Linked DNA regions of Homo sapiens: region 2 is linked to region 1. The links are contacts of gene promoters, found by promoter capture Hi-C in blood cells and fetal thymus (Javierre and others, 2016). All regions are on one chromosome and are shown on one strand. Each heading gives the region's core, a stretch centred on a gene start or on the middle of the fragment in contact. The rest is flanking DNA. Distances are from core to core; before and after follow the strand shown. Region 1 holds the start of KHDRBS1 (KH RNA binding domain containing, signal transduction associated 1). Region 2 overlaps SPOCD1 (SPOC domain containing 1).

Region 1 (5,410 bases), core at 1,369-3,868:
AATATTTTGTCCAACTATAGCTTAAAGTACAATTTGCAGCAGGCACTATAGTGAGGGAACGGGGAAGGTGTGTAGACTGACCAAAAATCCTGGTTACGATGCTTACTAATTTTGTTACCTTAGGCAAATTATTAATCTCTGGGTGTCTTGGTTTCCTCATCTGTATAAGTGAGGATAATAAAAGTAAGTTCTCATTTCATTTTATAGGTTAAATATTTAATGTAAAGTGCTCAGACCTCAAACATTAAGTGTTAGCTATATTTTTCTTCCGTGTGTTCTTTTCTTTTTTTTTTTTTTTTCCTTTTTTGAGATGGAGTTTAGCTCTTGTTGCCCAGGCTGGAGTGTAATGGCGCAATCTGGGCTCCCTGCAACCTTCGCTTCCCAGGTTCAAGTGATTTTCCTGCCTCAGCTTCCAAAGTAGCTGGGATCACAGGCGTGCGCCACCACGCGAAGCTAATTTTGTATTTTTAGTAGAGACGGGGTTTCACCATGTTGATCAGGCTGGTCTCCAACTCCTGACCTCGCGATCAGCCCGTCTCGGCCTCCCAAAGTGCTGGGATTACAGGCGTGAGCCACCGCGCCTGCCCCTTCCATGTGATCTTACCAGAGCTTAAATACTACTATTCTATCTTCTCAAAGTCTCACTTCCGCACAATGGGTTGTGACTTCACTGCAATCCCCTTGCAAGATAATTCAGAAATACCTTAAAAGCCAGGCTCAACATATATTAACACTTATCCATGCTAGAAAGAATTCATACATCCCAAACCAACAGTAACCTCAATCACATTTCTCCAATTTCAGTTGGGTTTAAAAAAAATACATCCAGAAAGCCCAAGTTAAAAATAAAGAGCACTCTCTTAGTTAAGCAGTGAGGGGAGACTGAAAATTAAAAGTAACTTTTAAGGATCAACAGTTTTTGACAGTTATCTTAAGAAAGCATAAAAGATGAACACCACACTGGTAAAGATCCCTTACCTTACAGTGTTGGGAGACAGAGAACAAAGGGAGGGAGATAATATTTTCATAATGAACTGTCCATTATATTAACCTTGCCAAAGAGTCCAACTACTCATTCAGTGTTGAAGGATGTGAATTTTTACTTGCTTAGTAAAATTTAGGTATCATAAAAAATATTAAAATAATATTTTAACTAGAAGCGAAAGTCAGACAGCTTTAGGGAAAAATCAGAGCGACTAGGTGATTGGCCAGTGCTGATGAGGAAAAGAGCGCTAACCTACAGAACAAAGACTCTCATTTCTAATCTATTTCACTACTGAATCAAAAATGTAAAAAACAGCAACAAAAAGGCCAAGCCTTTCAGTACAAGCATCATGCAACTTCTCTCAATTTCTGTCCATCTCGTTGGGAAACGTCATGTGAACTACGCGGGAGTCCCTATCGTCCCATTTCACTGTCTCTAGGGTTACTTCACTCCTTCAACGACAGTGAACACACGGTGTAAAATGGCTCAGTAGCAATTCTTATTTTATCAGCCTTAGTCGGAAATCTGATTCGGAAACCTCAAGCTCCGATCCACATAAATCGCTCCTTCCTCCCAGCAACTTAAGCTGCGGTTACCGCTAAGTCCGGCTCGGCCCCAGCGACAGCAAGGCACTGGACAGGGCATTCCAGCCTCACCCCACCTCACCTCGGCCCTTCCTCCCACGGTCCCTCCCCGCTCTGGCTGTCTTCACCTCCTACACCTCGGTCGAGGCGCTCATCGCCACCCGCGATCAAAAAGGGTTTCCCTTCAGGGAAAGGGGGAAATGAAGGTTCATTTCTGGAAGAATCTGCGCGCCCGGCAGCCGCAAGAGGAGGGAGGAGGGAAGAGTCGGGAAAGGGGCGGGGAGCTCAGCACTATCCATCAAGACATTAGCGCTAGGGGATCGCAAAGTCGCCTTCGGGCCTCCACTGCAGCCTAGAAATTCTCCCACGCACTCCGGGCTGAGGTGGGAATGTGGAATCCAGGCTCCCAAAAATGAGGATGAGACCGGAACTCCCGACTGCCTCGGTCCCGAGGGGGCGGGAAGCGAGAGGAACAAAGCCAGGGCCACTCATGCCCGGGATGGCCGGGCGACCCAGAGGGACACGGGAGGCCCCCTTACCTGCCGTCAGCAGCTGCATGGCGTGAGTGAAGGACGGGTCGAGCGAGTCCTTCTCGGCCATGAGTTCGGGCAGGTACTTGTTCTCTGGCTCCATCTTGACCGAGGCTGTGGCCGAGGGGGGCAGCAGCGGGGTCGGCGCTGGCCCGCCCACTGTCGCGTCGGGACCCGTGGCCGAGGGCGGCAGCAGCGGTGGCGGCTGCGTGGCGGGCGAGGCCCGGGCGCCCCCGCGGGATCCCCCTCCGCCTCCCCGGGACCGGTGAGGCAGCGGCGGCTGCCGAGACGGCGTCTGACGCACCGAGGGGTGGGCACCGGAGGGGTCCATGGAGCCGCTACGGCCCGAAGACCGGCTCATGCGCGCGGCGGGGTCGTCCCGGCGCTGCATCTGGGAGGATGTGCGATCCAAGGAGCGAGAAAGCGACGCGGCAGCGACGGAGGCCCGAGCGGCGGTTGGCGGGGGTGGCAGAGCGGGAGCGGTAGCGACCGAAGCCGACCCGAGCGACCCAGCGAGAGAGAGCACCGGAAATGAGGCGGCGCGCGTGCGCAGCCAGCCACCGGCACCGCCCTTGGGTTTCTCCGCGGAGAACAAAGTCCCCAGTCCGGCCACGGCGCCTGCGCACCGCCGCGGCGTCCGAGAAGTCGCCTCCCGACTCTGGCTTTCCCTCCGCTCCCGCCAGGCCAGAGCTTGATGCGCATGCGCGGGAGGCAGTGGGCTCCGTTCGTTTCGTTTTCCACGTGACTCGGCGCTAGCGGAACACGTGTCTCCTCCCCTTTCTGGCGTGGAGGGGGCGGGAGCTGTGGAATGTCTTTGTCTGCGCGCGGGCCCGCGGAGTGTGGGGCGGGAGACCTGTTACTCGCGGGGCCACGCCCTCTCCAACGGCTGAGCAGTGGAGGGAGGCTGTGGGGAGTGGGGTGGGGGGCGGTCACCGAAGTAAGGAAGTAAAAGACTGCCGAGAGGGTCACGGAAAGGGGAGGGAGAGAGAATTGAGACCGCCTGGGGAGGAAGACAGGAGTGAGACAGACTGCACAGGGAGAAAGGAAGGCTGAGGGAGAGTCTGATGCAGGGGGAAAGTTGGGGAAGGGAAACCTGGAGGGAGAAATTGAGGAAGGACGGCTTGGTGGAAACACTGAAGGCGATTGGAGTACTTGAACTAAGAGGGATGGTTCAGATCAGAGATCTGAAGTCTAGCAAAGAAAAGGGTCCCAGACATCAGGGAACACAAGAAGTTGTTTCCAGTATATATATTTCCAGTATTACATATATTCCAGTCGGTTCTAAAACGGTTGACATTGTTGGTACGGGAAATCTTAAGCAGCATTTTAGCTCTTTTTACATATTTTACTGCTTTTTCTGAATTGTGTTTGTTTTGTTTCGCCGTCATTATTGCCAATTAAGTGTTTCTTCCTTCAAAAAGTGAGGTAGAGACCAGATCCTTAATCCACGTTGGTTGCATCATTAGGATGGCTTCTTCTACCACTCCAGACTTGCTCAAAGAGACCCTTGCCACTACTCTCAAAGGCAAGGTACATAGTGGACAGTCGCCTACGACGTTCTCCACATCCTGGTGTGCTATATGCAAGTGGAGCCTTAGGTCCCTACTTGTCCCATAAGCCATCAAAAGCCTGGTGCCCTCTCTAACTTTCCCTTCCCTCCGCAGATTATTTTCTTCTTCCATTTAAAGCACTCACTCCCATCTCTTTTCCTTCTGGATTAGTTCTCCTAATGAGCCCACACTTTTCAAAAGTCTTTGGGGACCGGTGCGGTGGCTTATGCCTGTAATCCCAGCACTTTGGGAGGCCTAGGTGGGAGGATTACTTGAGGCTAGGAGTTCGAGAGCAGCCTGGACAATATAATGAGACCTCATCTCTACAATAAAAAAAGTTTCCGCCCGGCTTGGTGGCTCATGCCTGTGATCCCAACACTTTGGGAGGCCGAGGTGGGCAAATCACCTGAGGCCAGGAGTTCGAGACCAACTTGGCCAACATGATGAAACCCCATCTTTACTAAAAATATAAAAATTAGCCGGGTGTGGTGGTGCATACCTGTAATCCCAGCTACTTGGGAGGCTGAGGCAGGAGAATTGCTTGAACCAGGGACGCGGAGGCTGCCGTGAGCCGAGATCACGCCACTGCACTCCAGCCTGGGCAACAGAGCGAGACTACGTCTCAAAAAAAAAAAAAAAGGAAAAAAAGGTTTATTTGGAAATTGTCTTCTGAGTGCCTGGAAACTTGATTTTTGGATGTGAAGCTTAGAACCCTTTAACTAGAGAACCTAAAGGCCTTCTTTAAGGGGTTAAGGGAGAGGATTTCCAAATTACCCACAGAAATGAAAACAAAACACGTATCTACATAAATTATATATATATAATATAAAATATAGGCCAGATGCGATGGCTCATGCTTGTAATCCCAGCACTTTGGGAAACCGAGGCGGGCAGATCACAAGGTCAAGAGATCGAGACCATCCTGGCCAACATTGTGAAACCCCGTCTCTACTAAAAATACAAAAATTAGCTGGGTGTGGTGGTGTGCCTGTAGTCCCAGCTACTCAGGAGGCTGAGGCAGAAGAATCGCTTGAACCCAGGAGGCGGAGGTTGCAGTGAGCTGAGATTGCAGCACTGCACTCCAGCCTGGGGGACAGTGCGAGACTCTGTCTTGGGAAAAAAAAGAAAGAAAGAAAGAAATTAGCTGAGTGTGGTGGCGTGCACCTGTTGTCCCCAGCTACTTGAGAGACTGAGGTGGGAAGATTGCTGCTTGAGCCTGGGAAATTGAGACTACAGTGAGCAACGACTGCCCCACTGCACTCAGCCTGGACGACAGAGTGAGACCTTGTCTCAAAAAAAAAAAAAAAAAAAAAAAAAAAAAAAAAAAAAAGGCCAGTGCGGTGGCCCACTCCTGTAATCCCAGCACTTTGGGAGGCCAAAGTGGGTAGATCACCTGAGGTCAGGAGTTCAAGACCAGCCTGGCTAATACAGTGAAACCCCATCTCTACTAAAAACATAAAAAAGTTAGCTGAACGTGGTGGCATGCACCTGTAATCCCAGCTACTTGGGAGGCTGAGGCAGAAGAATTGCTTGAACCCGGGAGGTGGAGGTTACAGTGAGCCGAGATCGCGCCACACTGCACTCCAGCCTGGGCAACAGAGTCAGACTCCGTGTCAAAAAGAAAAAAGAAACGAAAAAATTAAGTGCTGTTGGAGTTCAATGCAGAAGATAGATTTTGGCCAAGGAAGAATAAGTTCCAGGCAAAGGGAAGTGGAATAAATGAGCAGAGATGAGAACGTGGGAAATGTGTTCAGGGAATGG
Region 2 (5,410 bases), core at 2,044-4,543, 220 kb after region 1:
CCACTTCTTAGACCCCAACTGCCACATCTGCAAGGGTGGGAGGGGACACGGGAGGGGTGCAGGGGTGGCAGCCAGGCTGGGGCTGAGCGTGCAGTTCAGCAGCAACAGGGATTTGTGGCCTGGGGAGAGGGTGGCAGAGCAGGGGTGCCCGTGCCCCAGGTCACCTAGAAAAGAACCTGGTTCAACCCTGGCTCTAAAGCCCTGGGCTGGCTTCAGCGCTGCTGCTGCCCCTGTTTCAGCTCCTGCCTCTGCTATTTGCAGACTGGGAGCCCTCGAATGAGCTGCTAGGCTCCTTCGAAGCCGCCAAGAGCTGCGGGGACAATATCTTCCAGAAAGCCCTAAGCCAAACTCCTATGCCTGCTCCAGAGATGCCCAAAACCAGGGAGTTGTCTCCCACGGAACCACAGGACAGGTGTGGGGTTGGGAGCAGGGAGGTGGATAACCCAGCAGGGTTGAGGGGGAGGCCACCACCTGGTGCAACAGACATAGCACTGGCTTTTCCTGTGTGGCCTTGGGCAAGTCTTCCCTCCCTTGGGAACCTCACTTTCCCCATCTGTGCAATGGAACTAATCATCCCAGCCTCCTGGCAGCCCCCTGCACAAGGCCAAGCTTGGGCCAGTGTTCCAGTCCCCACAGTAGGGACACAGGATCTGCTCTGAAAAGAAAGGAGGTGCCGGGGAAGTCCTCATGGCCTGCTCTGTCTGGCCCTGTCTTCTGTCCCTCCCTCTAGGGTCCCTCCATCTGGGCTCCATGTGCCTGCTGCACCCACAAAGGCCCTGCCCTGCCTGCCACCCTGGGAAGGTGTTCTGGACATGTTCTCCATCAAGCGGTTCCGGGCCAGGGCCCAGCTGGTCTCGGGACACAGCTGTCGGCTTGTCCAGGTGCACCTGCCCTCCTCGCCAGGGATTCCCTTACACACTGACCAGCCCAGGCAGCCTCTCTCTCTCTCTCTCTTTCACTCATGCATTCTAAAACAATTCATGGGCACCCCTTTCTGTGCCTGGCCCTGTGCAGGGCATGGGGGCAAATGAGATGTTGGTCCCATTCCTACAGAGACAAACAGGGTGAAGGACTCCCTGTCACCCATAGCAAGAAGGGCCCAAAGGAGGGTTTTAGGAGTGATCGTTGAGTGACTTAATGATCAGCTAAAGTGTCGGATGAGAGCAGAGGATAGAGGAGGGAGGGAGGGGCTTTGGAGAAGTTGTAGATTAGCCAGTACAGGCTGCAGACCTCCATGGGGCAATTAGAGCTTTCTGGGCAGCCACTGAGGGTCCTGGAACACTGCCTGCCCATATTTGCCACAGGCTGCAGCCTTCCAGGTGGCTGGGAATGCGTCCACCCTGAGTGGGTGGGAAGCTGGGGAGCTGACTGGCCATCCTTCCTGCCCCTAGGCTCTGCCCACCGTGATCCGCTCGGCAGGCTGCATCCCCTCCAACATTGTCTGGGACCTTCTGGCCAGCATCTGCCCAGCCAAGGCCAAGGTACCTGCCCACTCTTGGGCACCCCCTCTTTTCCTAGTACCTTACTCCCACCTCCCTCTCCACTTCTAGAGCAGAGGCCTGGCTTGGATATCTGGGTCTAGTTCCCAGAGTGACTGCAGACTCACTGTGTGACCCTGGACAGGTCCCTCTGTTTCCTCCTCTGGAAGATGGAGACATACTTTCTCACGGGGTTCTCAGGGGTTTCAGGGAGCCCAGGGGTGTTGGCAGGAGCAGAGGATGACTGCGCTTACAGCTGCTCTCCTCCTGCCACCGCAGGACGTCTGCGTGGTCAGACTGTGCCCACATGGGGCCCGGGACACCCAGAACTGCCGCCTGCTCTACTCATACCTCAATGATAGGCAGCGCCACGGGCTGGCCTCTGTGGAGCACATGGGGATGGTCCTGCTGCCCCTGCCTGCCTTCCAGCCCCTGCCCACCAGGCTGCGCCCTTTGGGGGGCCCAGGTGAGTGCCTAGTCCCCATACCAGACCCTGCCTCTGCTCACTTGGTGACCAGACCAGGCACGGTTGACACAGTCACCCAGTAGAGGCAGGCACATCTCAGAAGGGAACTCCTCACCCAGCCAGGCAAATGTGAGTACAATGACAGTAATAGCTCACGCTTGGATATCATGAACTGCATGCCAGCCATTGTTCTAAAAGCTTTACCTAGATGAATTCTTGTAGTCTCATCACCCTATGAGAATGGTACTATTAGACTAGACTGTCCATCTCATAGAAGAAGAATCTGAGGGAGGAAGAAGGCAAATGACTTGTCCAAAGTCACACAGTCAGTCAACAGCAGAACTGGGCTTCACTCTGTTCACACGTTGTGTGAAGCACAACATGGCTTCAGAAACCTGGCCCCTAACCACCACACCACACTGCCTCTCAAGGTAGGCACCCCTGAAGAGAAACTCCAGGGACAGCCACATTTGACCCAGGCAGCAGGACAGAGTCAGGACCTACACACACTTGACTGTAAATGTCACCTCAGAGAGGAGGGAGGGATGTTTCGCCACAGCCACGGGGGGCCGAGCTCGGCCTCTGTGCATGGACACCCTCCACGGCGTGGCTCAGGAAAGCAGCGAGGTTGGCAGTGGGCGCTTTGCCCACTCCTGAGCAAAGCGCTTGGCCTTTTGGGGCTCCATGTCCTGAGACAATGAGGTAGACTTTGAGTCTGTAGAGTCTTCAGGTCAAACAATCCATACCCCAGCCTCAGCCAGATAAGCCTTGATCCCGCAGAGCTCAAATCTTCCGAGACAGCCCCACCTTCCTACTTACTTTTCCCAGCATCTCATGGGCCCCATCTCACTGTGAAGAAGCCCTTCCTGGGATGTAGGCTCCAGATCTGCTGCAGCTAAGCTGAACACAGTTCTTCCCCGCAGGCCTTTGGGCTCTTCCTGTCTCCCCTCTCCTTTCCCCAGGTCTGGAGGTCACTCACTCAAGTCTGTTGCTGGCTGTGCTGCTCCCCAAGGAAGGGCTTCCAGACACAGCAGGGTCCAGCCCCTGGTTGGGGAAGGTTCAAAAGATGGTCTCCTTCAACAGTAAGGTGGAGAAGAGATACTATCAGCCAGATGACAGGAGGCCGAATGTGCCCCTGAAGGGCACCCCTCCCCCAGGAGGTGCCTGGCAGCAGAGCCAGGGCAGGGGCAGTATAGCTCCAAGGGGAATCTCTGCTTGGCAGAGGCCCCCCAGAGGCAGGGGGAGGCTCTGGCCAGAGCCTGAAAACTGGCAGCATCCTGGGCGAGGGCAGTGGCCCCCAGAGCCAGGCTTGCGCCAGTCCCAGCATCCCTATTCAGTAGCACCAGCTGGTCATGGCTTTGGCCGTGGCCAGCACTTCCACAGGGACTCCTGTCCCCACCAAGCCCTGCTCCGGCACCTCGAATCCCTGGCGACCATGAGTCACCAGCTCCAAGCCTTACTGTGCCCCCAGACCAAGAGCTCCATCCCCCGCCCTCTGCAGCGTTTGTCTAGCGCCCTTGCAGCTCCAGAGCCCCCTGGCCCAGCCCGTGACTCCTCTTTGGGGCCTACAGATGAAGCTGGCTCTGAGTGTCCCTTCCCTAGAAAGGCCTGACCCTCCTTACCCACCAGAACAGGGGTTTTGATGCCCTCACTAGTGTTGAAGCCTGTTCCAGAGAGAGGTGGGACTGCAAGGAGAGGATGGTCAGCCCTACCCACCTGCCCTGTTTGAACTTCCTGTTTGACAATGTTTGCTGTTGATTTTTTGTTCAATAAAGAATTTGGTAAAATTGGGATTGCATCTGCTAGCTGGTCAGGAGAGCCCCTGGTCCTGGTCAGATGTGGGTTGAGTGGGTGTGTCAGTGAGTGTCTTGTGCACAAATGTGCAGCCTTGCTCATTGCTGGTCTGAGGTCCTGAACCATCACTGCGCCCCAGGGCACAGCTATTGCCACGGTGGTTTCTGGAAGCATTTTGCAAGTATTCTGAACCAGGAGGAAGAGGTGGTGGTGGGAAAGAAAGTAGGACCGAGGTTGGGGGTGGAGAGAGAAATGGACAGAGCCTTTTGGAGGGTCACAGACATCAGACATCAAGAGATTGCTAGAGAGGAAAAGATAAGCAAGTTGCAGTGGACTTTAAATTTTTCAGTTAATACTAAGATTTTTTTTTCCTTTGACTAGATGGGGAAGGATAGTACATACCTTCACCATATTCCCTCCGAGTCTCTGTCTATGTGCTTCTCAGGGATCTCTGTGCACTAGTGTGCCTGCAAGCATGTGAGAGTATCTGTGTGAGTTTCATGGCCTGCCTGTGTGTAGGTCTCTGTTGAGGAAGTCAGGAGATCCAGATTGGGTGACTCCTCTCTGTATCTCTTGCCAGATTCCAGAGACTGGTGTTAGAAAATGTCAAAGGTCTTAGCCTTGGTGGTGGGCATTCAGGGTGGGGTTGGAGACTGGTATTAGGGTTGGACGGTGCTGCCTTGCCTTGGGCCTAGAACAAGCTTCTAACAGCAACTGCAACTGTCAAGCGTTTCATGTGGGGTGTACCTCGAGAGAGCTGCATCTGCGGACTGATGGGGGAACCAGCTGCCAGGGCCAACCAACCCAGCGTGGGGAAAGGGGCCTGGCTTCCAGGAGAGAACCTCTCTAGAACCCCACCCTTCGCCCCGGGGCCAGAAGGGCCCTACCCGCTCTTTGCTCACCCCTTCGCAAAGTCCACCCATGTACAGGCCTCACCCTGGCCCCTGCTGGACTGGAAGGGGTGGGGCGATGGTCGGTTGGGGGAGCCCTTCTTCTCTGCCCCATGAGCTCTGCGGCTGCCCTACCCGCGGACGACAGCAGAGGGGGCCCTCGGCCTTGGGATGGAGGTCGGGGCTGGCAGGACCGGAGTCAAAGCGGGGGGTGGGGCGAGGTGCGGGAACTTAGCGCAAGGAGTTGGAAGCGGGGGCGGGGTAGGATGCGGGTGGGGTGCGGGTGAGGGGTAGGGAGAGGGGGCTGGACAGTTGAACCGGGAGAGGGAGCGGGGCTCCTTCGGGAACTTTTCCGGCTCGAAATGGCCTGGGAGCGCCGCAGCCTCCGCGCTCTATGCAAATGACGCAAATTACTATGCAAACCTACAGCTTGGTTCTGAGCCCACAGTTTGGGTGGTTTTCCTAATGCAGTTGGTATGGAGGGAAACGGGTGTGCACTCCCTCCCCTCCAGGTCCAGGGCTTCCTCCGGAGAGCCGCCAGAGCCGCTCTCCTGGAACACGCAGGCAAGAGCGAGCTCTGTACCCTGGGCAGGGATTTCCTTTGGGAGCTTCAGTTTTCCCTTCTGTAAATGGGGGTGATAACGCGGCTCTGTAACAGCTCGCCCGTGGAAGGGCTGTAGGTGGGCCCCGAAATCCTGCAGCCTGCTAAACATGACACCCTCCCCCACCCCCGCCACCTTTTGGCCCCAGTCCACGAGCCCCTTGCCCCTCTCTCTCTCGGC

What was found. The method cuts DNA at HindIII sites, captures the fragments that hold promoters and counts their contacts. A CHiCAGO score of 5 or more calls a contact.
Region 2: a fragment that was not itself captured here is called in contact with the fragment with the promoter of KHDRBS1 in region 1 in 3 of 17 cell types (fetal thymus, activated CD4 T cells and naive CD4 T cells); the score reaches 7.0 in fetal thymus.

The regions. Positions count from the first base shown.
Region 1 is chr1:32,011,076-32,016,485 of GRCh38, reverse strand. It overlaps KHDRBS1 (KH RNA binding domain containing, signal transduction associated 1), which reads right to left and starts at 2,618. Exons shown (of 9, transcript NM_006559.3): 1 at 2,109-2,618. The coding sequence starts at 2,490. RefSeq lists silencers at 1,610-1,719, 2,200-2,409 and an enhancer at 1,813-2,383. The HindIII fragment of the contact is 9,365 bases long and covers 1-4,355 here.
Region 2 is chr1:31,788,749-31,794,158 of GRCh38, reverse strand. It overlaps SPOCD1 (SPOC domain containing 1), which reads left to right. Exons shown (of 16, transcript NM_144569.7): 11 at 1-35; 12 at 262-412; 13 at 731-881; 14 at 1,392-1,481; 15 at 1,758-1,944; 16 at 2,868-3,737. The coding sequence ends at 3,556. Among named protein-coding and RNA genes, the nearest start is that of SPOCD1, 25 kb to the left of the region's middle. RefSeq lists silencers at 4,767-5,056, 5,387-5,410 and an enhancer at 5,222-5,410. The HindIII fragment of the contact is 2,297 bases long and covers 2,145-4,441 here.